Regions from separate parts of the Homo sapiens genome. Here regions 1, 2 and 3 are each linked to region 4. The links are contacts of gene promoters, found by promoter capture Hi-C in blood cells and fetal thymus (Javierre and others, 2016). All regions are on one chromosome and are shown on one strand. The core of a region is centred on a gene start or on the middle of the fragment in contact, and the rest is flanking DNA. Distances in the headings are between cores, read along the strand shown. Region 1 overlaps CDC37L1 (cell division cycle 37 like 1, HSP90 cochaperone). Region 2 overlaps CDC37L1 (cell division cycle 37 like 1, HSP90 cochaperone). Region 3 has its middle 66 kb from the start of PLPP6. Region 4 holds the start of JAK2 (Janus kinase 2).

What was found. Contacts are between HindIII fragments. The CHiCAGO score rates a contact against its expected background, and 5 or more counts as called.
Region 1: a fragment that was not itself captured here is called in contact with the fragment with the promoter of JAK2 in region 4 in 1 of 17 cell types (erythroblasts); the score reaches 5.4 in erythroblasts.
Region 2: a fragment that was not itself captured here is called in contact with the fragment with the promoter of JAK2 in region 4 in 1 of 17 cell types (erythroblasts); the score reaches 5.3 in erythroblasts.
Region 3: a fragment that was not itself captured here is called in contact with the fragment with the promoter of JAK2 in region 4 in 1 of 17 cell types (activated CD4 T cells); the score reaches 5.1 in activated CD4 T cells.

What each region holds. Positions count from the first base shown.
Region 1 is chr9:4,680,279-4,682,978 of GRCh38, forward strand. All of the region lies in intron 1 of CDC37L1 (cell division cycle 37 like 1, HSP90 cochaperone), which reads left to right. Among named protein-coding and RNA genes, the nearest start is that of CDC37L1, 2.1 kb to the left of the region's middle. The HindIII fragment of the contact is 490 bases long and covers 1,033-1,522 here.
Region 2 is chr9:4,704,625-4,707,324 of GRCh38, forward strand. CDC37L1 (cell division cycle 37 like 1, HSP90 cochaperone) reads left to right here. Exons shown (of 7, transcript NM_017913.4): 7 at 1,387-2,700. The coding sequence ends at 1,488. Among named protein-coding and RNA genes, the nearest start is that of CDC37L1, 26 kb to the left of the region's middle. The HindIII fragment of the contact is 2,506 bases long and covers 74-2,579 here.
Region 3 is chr9:4,594,782-4,597,481 of GRCh38, forward strand. It overlaps a transcript of SPATA6L not described here. Among named protein-coding and RNA genes, the nearest start is that of PLPP6, 66 kb to the right of the region's middle. The HindIII fragment of the contact is 5,639 bases long and covers 1-2,700 here.
Region 4 is chr9:4,983,938-4,986,637 of GRCh38, forward strand. It overlaps JAK2 (Janus kinase 2), which reads left to right and starts at 1,335. Exons shown (of 25, transcript NM_004972.4): 1 at 1,335-1,693; 2 at 2,003-2,085. RefSeq lists enhancers at 386-1,219, 1,148-1,287, 2,088-2,137 and silencers at 868-917, 958-1,037, 1,428-1,757. The HindIII fragment of the contact is 8,817 bases long and covers 1-2,503 here.

The sequences.
Region 1 (2,700 bases), core at 28-2,527, 300 kb before region 4:
AGGCTCTAGCATACTTGTGCACAGTTGCTAGGAACAGTGAATGATTGTAGTTCAGCATCACACTGAGTCCTGACAAAGATTTCACATGCGATTTTCACCGATGTTGACAACTGAGTAAATTCTTTAAATCTCGCTTTTGACGCTGGCGTACACCTCTCCCATTCGCGTGACCATCTTTGCCTTACTGTTTTGTTTTTTAGTTTTGCTTCACGTCATTCTCCAGTGAAAATATATACGCATATACTTGTGTTTTCCTTCAGACTTCTCTTAGGTTCCTGGTATTGTGTTTTCAATCCAGCATTCCTGCCTTCCTGCGACTGAAACGTATCCAAATGTGATATACTATTAAGGATTTTTCAGGGACCTATCTTAGGGGATACTTACATACTCGCATCACCTTGTCCTGTTTTTTTCTCCGAATCCGTGTGTGTTTTGGAAGTATATTTCAGAATCACAGACTAAACACTAATATATTCAATGGATCATAAGTGTCTGCCGCCTTCTTGCAAAATGGGGTTCCCAAGAGTGTAACAGATTTAATAGTAGTTTTCCTCTCAACTTATTTTGCTAGATGTTAATGAGAATGAGTTAAATTGCTTACCAGTAAGCGTGACATTATCAATCTTATGTCCAGCTAACAGGGTTAGTTGGCTTCACACAGAGAAAAATGCTGTTTCATAACCACTGTCTGTACTTTGGCCAGCTAAGTCACTGGGGAACTACAAGACATTTTTTAGGAGGACAGAATGAGAGTTGATGGGTCCATCATTAGTCACCCACTAATTTTGGATCACTAGTGTCATCTTTATATACAAAATGTATTATAAGCACATGATGTGCTAGGGAGGAAAGAAGAATGAACAGCAGATGCCATTGTCAATTTTGAAGGCATATGAAGAGAAAAAAGGGTGTCAAGAATTTCAGTGCATTGTGGTTGAATTACAGAAGTAATCTAGAGAAATATCTGTATGTTAATTTCTTACTTGTGCACTTCTAAATTTGTTTAGCTGGAAGAGATTTTAGAAGTGAGTAAGCTTATCTCTCTCATTAAAAGTGTTTTCCCTGAGGCCATGTAACTAGTTAGTGGCCAGGTTAAAACTAGAACCCACTTATGACTCCTAGTCCAGTATATTTTCCCACCTACTGCACTGCCCACCAGAGTTCGAGACCAGCCTGACCAACATGGAGAAACCCTGTCTCTACCAAAAATACAAAATCAGCCTGGTGTGGTGGCGCATGCCTGTGATCCCAGCTACTCGGGAGGCTGAGGCAGGAGAATTGTTGGAGGCAAAGGTTACAGTGAGCCGAGATCACACCATTGCATTCCAGCCTGGGCAACAAGAGCGAAACTCTTGTCTCAAAAAAAAAAATTTTTTTTGCAAACTGATTATTAATTCTGAGTTCATGTGTTTATTACAAACCTACTTATTGGTCTTACTGGCTTTAAGACTTAAATTTTTGGATTGGAATATTTGGAAAAAATAAAATGTTTAATTGATTAACATTTTATAATCCTAAAAAAAGCTTTGGCTTAATTTTATCAAATAAGGGGGATCTAGACTTCTTAATGTAGTATGTGATATGTAGTTCTTAGATCCAATTAATGTAAAGGCAGATCATGTTTAATGTCCCTCTAAAACTTCTGTATGGTCATGGATTAGAATGTGACCTAATATTTTATTTAATATCTGAATACATGTTGGATAGTTTGCCCAAATGGCCAAATGTTGTCTGGGTAGTTTGTGGAGAAATAAGACATACATTATTTTTAGAATTTTTCGATTTGAGAAAAGAATATTTGCTCCCAAATAATTTGAAAATGCAAGATAATTTCTATTTATCCATATTACCATATTACTTTTCTTGATATATTATCCTTTCTCTTTTTTTTTTTTTTTTTTTGAGGCAGTGTCTTGCTGTGTTGCCCAGGCTGGAGTGCAATGGCACGATATTGGCTCACCACAGCCTCCGCCTCCCAGGCTCATGTGATTCTCCTGCCTCAGCCTCCTGAGTAGCTGGGATTACAGGTGCCCACCACTGTGCCCAGCTAATTTTTTTTTTTTTTTGAGATGGAGTCTCGCTGTGTCACCCAGGCTGGAGTGCAGTGGTGCAATCTCGGCTCACTGCAACCTCTGCCATTCTGGGTTCATGCCATTCTCCTGCCTTAGCCTCCCAAGTAGCTGGGACTACAGGCACCCGCCACCATGCCCGGCTAATTTTTTGTATTTTTAGTAGAGATGAGGTTTCACCACGTTAGCCAGGATGGTCTCGAGCTCCTCCTCGTGATCCGCCCGCCTCGGCCTCCTGAAGTGCTGGGATTACAGGTGTAAGCCACCACTCCCGGCCATGCCCAGCTAAGTTTTAAAATATTTTTAGTAGAAACGGGGTTTCGCCATGTTGGCCAAGCTGGTTTCGAACTCCTGACCTCAGGTAATCCGCCCGCCTCAGCCTCCCAAAGTGCTGGGATTACAGGCGTGAGCCACTGAGCCCAGCCAAAAGAAGTTTTATATACAAAAGTTCTTACATCTTTTCTTACAAAATAAGTTATATAGCTTAATTTTTCTCCTTTTCCTGGCTCTGTTTTAAGCATAGCTAGTCTACAGTTATTCTTGATCCTATTCTAAGATAACTATTCTTGATCCTATTCTAAGATAACAAAAAGTAAAAATAAATATTTTATTTTAAAATATTATATTTTAT
Region 2 (2,700 bases), core at 77-2,576, 280 kb before region 4:
TTAGAAAAAGGTCTTAAAGCTGTTTTTTTGGAGAATGAGACAATGTAACAATAATATTGGTCATTTTTGATAAAGCTTAAGTGTGGGTAACCATTTAGCTTTTCATTTCTTTTTTTTAATAATTGACAGCAATCGTGTGAAATAAGCCAAATACCATTCATTATCCTTAGTTTTGAGAGGTCTAATCCAAGGCCTCTTGGATATAGAAATAATAACAGTTAACTTTAGGTTTATCCTGTAGACTAGTTTTTAATTTTACTAAATTGTGAATTTTGTTCTCCTTGAGGCTTGCTTTACTAAATAGAGGCAGGATTAAAACTGAAGCCCAGTGTGAGTGTCCCAGACCTCAGTCAGTTGTCCCTGCTACTTCCTTCATAAAGACCTGATTGGGAATAATCCGAACTCCAGCTAGCTTTTTGACTTTTAGAATAAAGGAATCTCACAAAGTGTTGTACTTTCTTAGGAGGATCTTTAGAAAACCCTGCCTCCCAACCTCCTATTGGATGGTGAGGTTTAAGACATCTATCCTGTTTGACTACTGTCCTCACTGGTGTTTATTAAATAAAATAAATATAAGTAAAACTAGTAATACAAGTGGTAAAAGTCTTAAGTAACTAGCAGATATTCGGAACAATTGAGTAGACAAAATTGAATTGGGGAAGAATTTTCTAAAGTTCTGGGTCTTAAGGGCTATACCCTTATTCATGGTGCTTTAATAATGGTTTTATTTTTGCATTTATTGAGTAAGATTTTATGTTTTCTATTCCCAGTTTTTGAAATTGACAAGCATAACATTTATGAGTTTATGCTTGTTTAACAAATCCTGTTGTTTTATTCTCAGTTTAAAAAATAAGGGTGTAAATACATCTCAAAAGTGTACAGATTTCTCACTGAGTTTGTTTTAACCTTTGGGAAACCACAATAGACCCTGAAGATATCCATAATTTTTACCCAGTAAATTTTTTCTTTATTTAGATGATTTGCAGTTTTAGTATTTACTGTTGTAATTAGATGGTAATCTTAAAAATGCATTGCTAACTTCAAACCATATTTAAATTATCAGTAGCTATGTATATATAATCACATGGAGGTTGTAGCCTTGCCTTGTATGATTAAACAGAGAAGAAAGGTGGTATTTGTTAACATTTCTGTTTTTTACATGTATCATTCTTTTATCACATCTCATAGGTGATAGCATCCTATTTTTTTCTTTATTTTCTTGGGATTCAGCCCAAGTCTGTCTCCAAAGTCCATCTTCTTTCCTACTGCTCTACTACACTGCAGAGAAATAGGACGGTGAAACTGAATATATATGTATGTACTGTCATAAAACTGGTTATAATGCGTTCTTTTTCTCCCCCCAATCTACCTTTTCTTTTTCCCCAGAATCCAGATTATCTTCAGTATTCTATCAGTACAGCTCTCTGCAGCTTAAACTCGGTGGTACATAAAGAAGATGATGAACCCAAAATGATGGACACTGTATAATTTGGTTAAGACTGCTGAGGCCAAGTGCTATTTTGTTACAAGAAAGGAAGAACTTGGCTATTTTCTTGACACTTTTATGGGTGCTGCACTTTATTTTTGTTCGGTTTTTGATGGGAGGGAAAGAGTACTGAAATGTTTTGTAAATTTTTTTTAATGTGCTGCTAGGTTTTTTGTTTTGTTTTGTTCTGAAGAGAAGAGTGGTACCATATGTTGCAGGAAGTCAAACTGGACTTTTTGTGGCTACTAAATTTGCTTTTAATCTTATTGTTCTCAATTTTGGAATCAAGTATGAAAATCTGCACAAATGCAATGTTTACAAGAACTGGTTGATTCTGGGAGGCATCTGCTACAGTCTCTTTTTATATGGATATGTACATGTCCTATTCTACAAAAATGATTAAAGATAAAAACATACTTGTATCCCACTGCTACTTTAGCTGTCAAATTTGGTGTTTCATCACATTAAAAGCAATAAATCAGTAGTTGGTAATGTACTTTACTAAATAAGTTGGGGGGTACAATTTTTAAAAGTCTTAACTCTTAAATACTTGACTTTCGGCACCATCAGTTAAATCCTTGACTATAATACAAATTTGATATATACATTACATTTACCCTCAAATTATTCTCAAAACTATATTCCTTAGAATTTGATTTTACCCTGCTGACTTTAAGAGTTATAATAATATCAAATGTGATGAGCTAATATAGATTTTCTTTTTAAATAAGAATAACTTCAAGCTCACTCTTTCTTAACATAGTCTGGGATCTCTCAGGGAGTAAGTTTTAAAAGAATACTAATGGCTTGTAAGAACAAACAGGAATAATAATCTGATTTTTAAATTTGTAGTTATTTTACTCATGTTGCCTTTTAATTTTTGTTATTTTGGTTTATTTTTTGATGTAGCCTTTTAAAAAAGGAGTCTTAAAAATGATTTTTTTTTTAAAGGCAAGAGAAATCTTGTAGTGCTAACTGCCTTGAGCTGCCAATTACCTATTTCTGAGAATTTGGTGACTCTTATTGGTAATGATGGCATTTACAACATTTGGCATTTCCCCTTTTTCAGCTCAGTTACCATAGAATACTTCCAAGCTTTACTACTTCCTCTGTAAGTCATTTCAGTTATGCCAGGATATTTGATGATTTTGTTTATGTAGAATTAGGTAACAAAGCCAATTATGCTATCCTTATTATTGAAGGATTAATCTTAT
Region 3 (2,700 bases), core at 22-2,521, 390 kb before region 4:
AATTCTTGAATAAACAACTTGTATTTTGATAATCCTCTAAATTCTATTTACAACCATAAGGCCTTCACGATAAGAACAAGATTCAGAGGGATTAAAAAAATACTAAACAAAATCCCAGACAAGGCCTCCATTCTTCTCAACACCCACCTTGACCCCTAGTAATTCTAAGTGTTCCCTATTCTATCTCCCTGGCCAAAAAGAGACCACAAAAAGAAAAGTCCCTAAAGGATTTCATTTGAGCTCCTATTTTGTTCTCTTAGTCGTTGAGTTCATCTTGCCTCACACATCATGAAGAATATGAATCCACAAAATGAAGGACACTGTGTCCTTATTTCTGCAGGGCAATTATTCTCTCCATCAATACCTCATTCTGCTGACTAAGTAGTTCACCTTCACTTTGTAACAAGCCCAGGCCACCGGACTTAACCACTTCTTCCTTAAAAGGGCCAGGTACCTCCCCCATACACCCACAGGTTTTTAAGCACCCCTAAAATAAGTTGTCTCATGATGTCTTCCCAGCCCTGATGTCTAATCAGCCCTTCTCTTTCCTGTGACTCTCCTACTCAGTTGAGGTTCTATTGCCCTAATTTTCAGACTTCTTCAAAGGCTTTGTCAGAGTCTCCCCACCGCCAGCCTCTACCTACTCCCAAACCATCCTGCACAAGATCATCAGATTAATACTTTGCTTTCTGGCTCCAAAACTCTAACGGCTTCTTATTGTCTACAGCACAAGTTGAAAATACTCGCCTGAATATTTAGGACACTTCAGAAGATACCCCAAAGGACATTTCCTCTTCTCTATATACATATGCTTCATTATACTCTCCCCAGTTGCCTCACTCTCCCAAATCTCTTCTCTACCTGGTCTGCCTATTTTTTAAATGCTGAAAATAAGTTCTGGGCCTCCAACACCAATACCCCACTGTTTCTAACCTCCTGAAACATACAGAAGCAACAGTATCTTGGTACATAATCAGATACTGCCTTATATTATTAAGTTAATCAATATGAGACGATTATAAAGTAATGAAATTGAGTTCCACAAACCTCACTGTAAATCAATACCATTATTTTATACTACTAAACAGGAGTCAAAACTGGTGGCTTTGGGCAAGACCCAGCTTCAGACCAGCTTTATGTGGGCCACAGAGCCTTTGGCTGGTTTAGATTTGAATTTGAAGATGAACACCTTGTGGGAGGATGGGGTGTTACATGCTCCACTTCACTCCAGCTCCCATCACTCACCATTATTTCAAACTCAACTGCTTCTGACAGTCACAAATCCTGCCTGGTCCTAAAGACATCCGAGTTTGCAACACCTTTTGGGAATCACACTTGAAATATCTCGTTTAAGGTCTCATTGCCCCAGTAAGTATGGAAACTTCAAGAGGGCACGGGTTGAATTTTACACCCCTTAGTGTGACCCCTCCCGACCCCACAGGGTCCTGCGCAATACTGAGCACACAGAAGGAGTTTAACAAATACAAGTTGAGTGGGTCCATGCGAGGCTGTGGGATCAATTTTGTTAACTGCAGGGCTGGGAGGAGACCCAGTGAACAAAGGACGTCATCCTATCCCTTAAGCAACAACAAATGAGCTTTCATAATGAAGAGTTCCCACCATGAATGCAACGCTTCCAGCAATAACACCTACTGCCACTGCCTACGGTCTGTTCCTGGAAGTCATCCCAATAAAACAAGTATGATGTTTATCTCAGTTCAAAATTCCAATTTCAGTGAGTGTCCGTTCCTGGAGAAAAAGGAACAGGAAAGTTTATTTGGGGGTGGTGGGGAGGAGGGGACTTCCTAAAAATGCCGTTTACAAACATAACATTTCAATGACAGGAAATACGAGCAGAAAGCCTCTCTTGTTGGCCTAAACAAGAAGTGGTTAATTGTTCCAACTTCTGTCAAGAGACCTTAGTTGCTCTGTTATTCTGAAATGTTCTGAGTTCATGTTTTTCAAACCCTTTAAGTTGAATTATCTGTGATGCCTCAGGGCCAACCAGGTGGCAGCAAAGGGGTGACAGGAAGTGGTACAGAGAACCTGAGGTTTGGAAACAAGACAGAGCAGGGTTTGCAAACTGGCTCTGACGCTTGCTTTTCTGAGCCTCAGTGTCCTTAGCAAGAAATAGGGGGAGCAATGCTTTCCTCAAAAAATTAAATGAGATGAGAATAAGAATAGCTAATGCTCACTGAGTGCTCATTTTGTGCCAGGCACTGATTTAATGTACTTTAAATGTATTATCTACCAACAATAACATTATTAGACAGATACTATTATTACCTCCATATTATACATAAGGACATTGAGACACAAAGAGGTTAAATTATCTGTCCAAGGCACTCAGCCTGTAAATGGCAGAACTAGGATTTAAATCCAGGTACTCGGAGGGGCGCAGTGGCTCATACCTGTAAGCCTAGCATTTTGGGAGGCCGAGGCGGCAGATCACTTGAGGCCAGGAGTTCAAGACCAGCCTGGTCAATATAGGGAGACTCCTTCTCTATTTTTTATATATATAAAAAAAGAAAACAAAATACACACACACACACACACACACACACACACACACACACACACACACACACGGTGGGGCGTGGGGGGTGAGGTGGGCGGAGCTAATGGATCACTCTAAAAGACGCAGAATCCCAAGGAAAAATTTTGGACTAGAAACTCCTCATTTTGTTGAAGAAGCTCCAT
Region 4 (2,700 bases), core at 85-2,584:
CCAAACACTTTCCCTTCTCAAGGTCTTTGCCTTCAGGAGTCCCTCTGCCTGAAATTCTTTTCCCAGATAGTCATGGGACTGGTTCATTCTCATCCTTCAGATCTCTGCTCAAATGTCACTTATTCTAGGAAATCGTTCCTGGCCACCGTAAAATAGCACACCCCCTCCTCACTTTCTACTCCTTTTCTTTGTTATTATGTATATGGCAGCAGAAAACTATGCATTTTCTTAGTGGCAATTACACACCCCGCACATTATGCATTTAAAGCGTTGTTTGTTGTTTTGTCGCTTCCATCAGAATACAATCCAGTAGGGCAAGGAGTGTGTGGGGTCGTGTTCACCTGGTATCTCTGGGGACCTACAGCCCGGCACCTAGTAGACACTCAGTAAATATTTGAATGAATGAATGAGGCCCTTTGGCAGCCGGGAAGCCCGTCACAGCCGTTGTCTCCACCCTCTCCCGGGCTACACCAGGCCACGCCGGTAAAGTTGTTTCTCCTCTAGGAGAAACATTCGCTAGGCCTTGTTGCCAACCCGCAGGCGGCTGGGCGCTTCATCCCACCCTCACCCCTTTCCAGCCAAGGTGGCTGATGGGAGTCAGGCTCTCGAGGGCGCATTGCCACGAAACAGCGTGTGTGAGCGCGTTGTCCCCGGCCCCCGGCGCCACTTCCCCTCGGCCTAGCAGCCTGGACTGGGGAAGGACGGGTCTGCTGTACCCGGGAGGTGGAAGGAAAAGCCGAAAGCGGAGAAGTGTGCGGGAGGGGAGTCTCCGCGCGGAGGCAGCCCGGCCTCCTCCAGTGCAGGCTGCGCGCTGGGGAGCCAGCCAGGGTGAGTCACTCCCGGCCGCTTCCCTGGAGGGCGGCGGCCACACACACACCCGCCCATCTAGTGAGGGCCGGGCCCAGCGCTGGCGCCTAGCTCCAGCCGGGCACCAGCGTTTCGCGAGGCGCCGCCGCCTTAACTTCCTTGCGCGCTCACGCCCAGGGGCCGTCCCAGGAATCTCCACGCGCGCTCGCCGGCTTCCCGAGAGGCAGCTGCCCTGCGTGGCCCGCGCCTGCCGGTCCCGCGACCAGCACCGAGCGGCGCACGCGCACTGCAGGACGCGCGTCCGGCTCTCCCCCAGCCTCTATCCGGCCCGGTCTCCTGCCATTCGGGGAGACTGCAGGCCAACCGGGAGGCTGAGTTCGAAGCTAGCAGGGCGGCGAAGCCAGTGTCGCCCGCGGCGTTGAGAAGACGGTGTGGCCCCGGAGAGGGTGGAGACAACTGTGACGGGCTTCCCGGCTGCCCGAAGTGGGAGTGGTGTGGGGCTGCAGGAAGGAGAGAGGAAGAGGAGCAGAAGGGGGCAGCAGCGGACGCCGCTAACGGCCTCCCTCGGCGCTGACAGGCTGGGCCGGCGCCCGGCTCGCTTGGGTGTTCGCGTCGCCACTTCGGCTTCTCGGCCGGTCGGGCCCCTCGGCCCGGGCTTGCGGCGCGCGTCGGGGCTGAGGGCTGCTGCGGCGCAGGGAGAGGCCTGGTCCTCGCTGCCGAGGGATGTGAGTGGGAGCTGAGCCCACACTGGAGGGCCCCCGAGGGCCCAGCCTGGAGGTCGTTCAGAGCCGTGCCCGTCCCGGGGCTTCGCAGACCTTGACCCGCCGGGTAGGAGCCGCCCCTGCGGGCTCGAGGGCGCGCTCTGGTCGCCCGATCTGTGTAGCCGGTGGGTGTTATCTCTGCCTGGCTTCTGGGTGGGGGGCAGCAGCTGTCTCTCCACCCCCTTCCTACCTTTTGGTCCCGCCTGCCCCCTGCTAGTGGCAGCAAACTTCTGAGCCAGAAAAATCTTCCTCTTTAAGACGACACCTAGAACGAGTCTTGCTGGTGATATTTGCTTCCATTTGTGTCTTATAATTCCCTCGCTCCCGCCTCCTTATTCCTTTTTAAAATTTTCTAGACACTTAAACAGCCTAGAAAAAGCATTTGTTTCCCCTGGATTTATGTGGTAGTAGTTAACTGCTGCTTCTGTTTTTAGGTTTCAGAAGCAGGCAACAGGAACAAGATGTGAACTGTTTCTCTTCTGCAGAAAAAGAGGCTCTTCCTCCTCCTCCCGCGACGGTGGGTGTGCTGTCCTTTATCGCTGCAGTAAAGGCGAAGGTGTCTGGAGCTGGGAGTGCGTGCGTAGGGAAGGTTGGAAGCGTGTGAAGAGAGGCAGGGCTCATTGTTGCTTACTCTTCTGAAAATGTCAGTGCTAAACTTTTAATGTTGATCTGGGAGAGTAATTTTGGGGTGTTTTGTTGTTCGTCTTGGATCCTTTAAGAAACATTTTTTTGTTGGCTTTACACATAACGTGACTTTGCAGAGAAACGAAAAACGTTGTCCATTACCCTTTCTTCTTAAGCAGCCAGAGATTCTTAATCCTTTAAAGAGGAGTATTTCCAAGCAATAAGAGATAGCTTTTGGGAGAACACGTTAGCTATTCTTGCTGGGGTTTCTGCTACCACATTGAATGTTTCCTCATGGTTTTATCTGCCTAAGCTTGCTGTGTCGGTTGAATTTACCCAGTTTGTTTTCCAGTAATTACTAATCTGTTAGGAGAAACTCCATTTCTCTGAATGAAAGGGTAGGAGCGGCTGAGTATGGAGAAGGAAACTGGAAGTGGGAATAAGGGAAATGATTGCTTTTGGTTTCATAATAAGTTTGTACAGTGAGTTGTTGGGCTACTGCAAATAA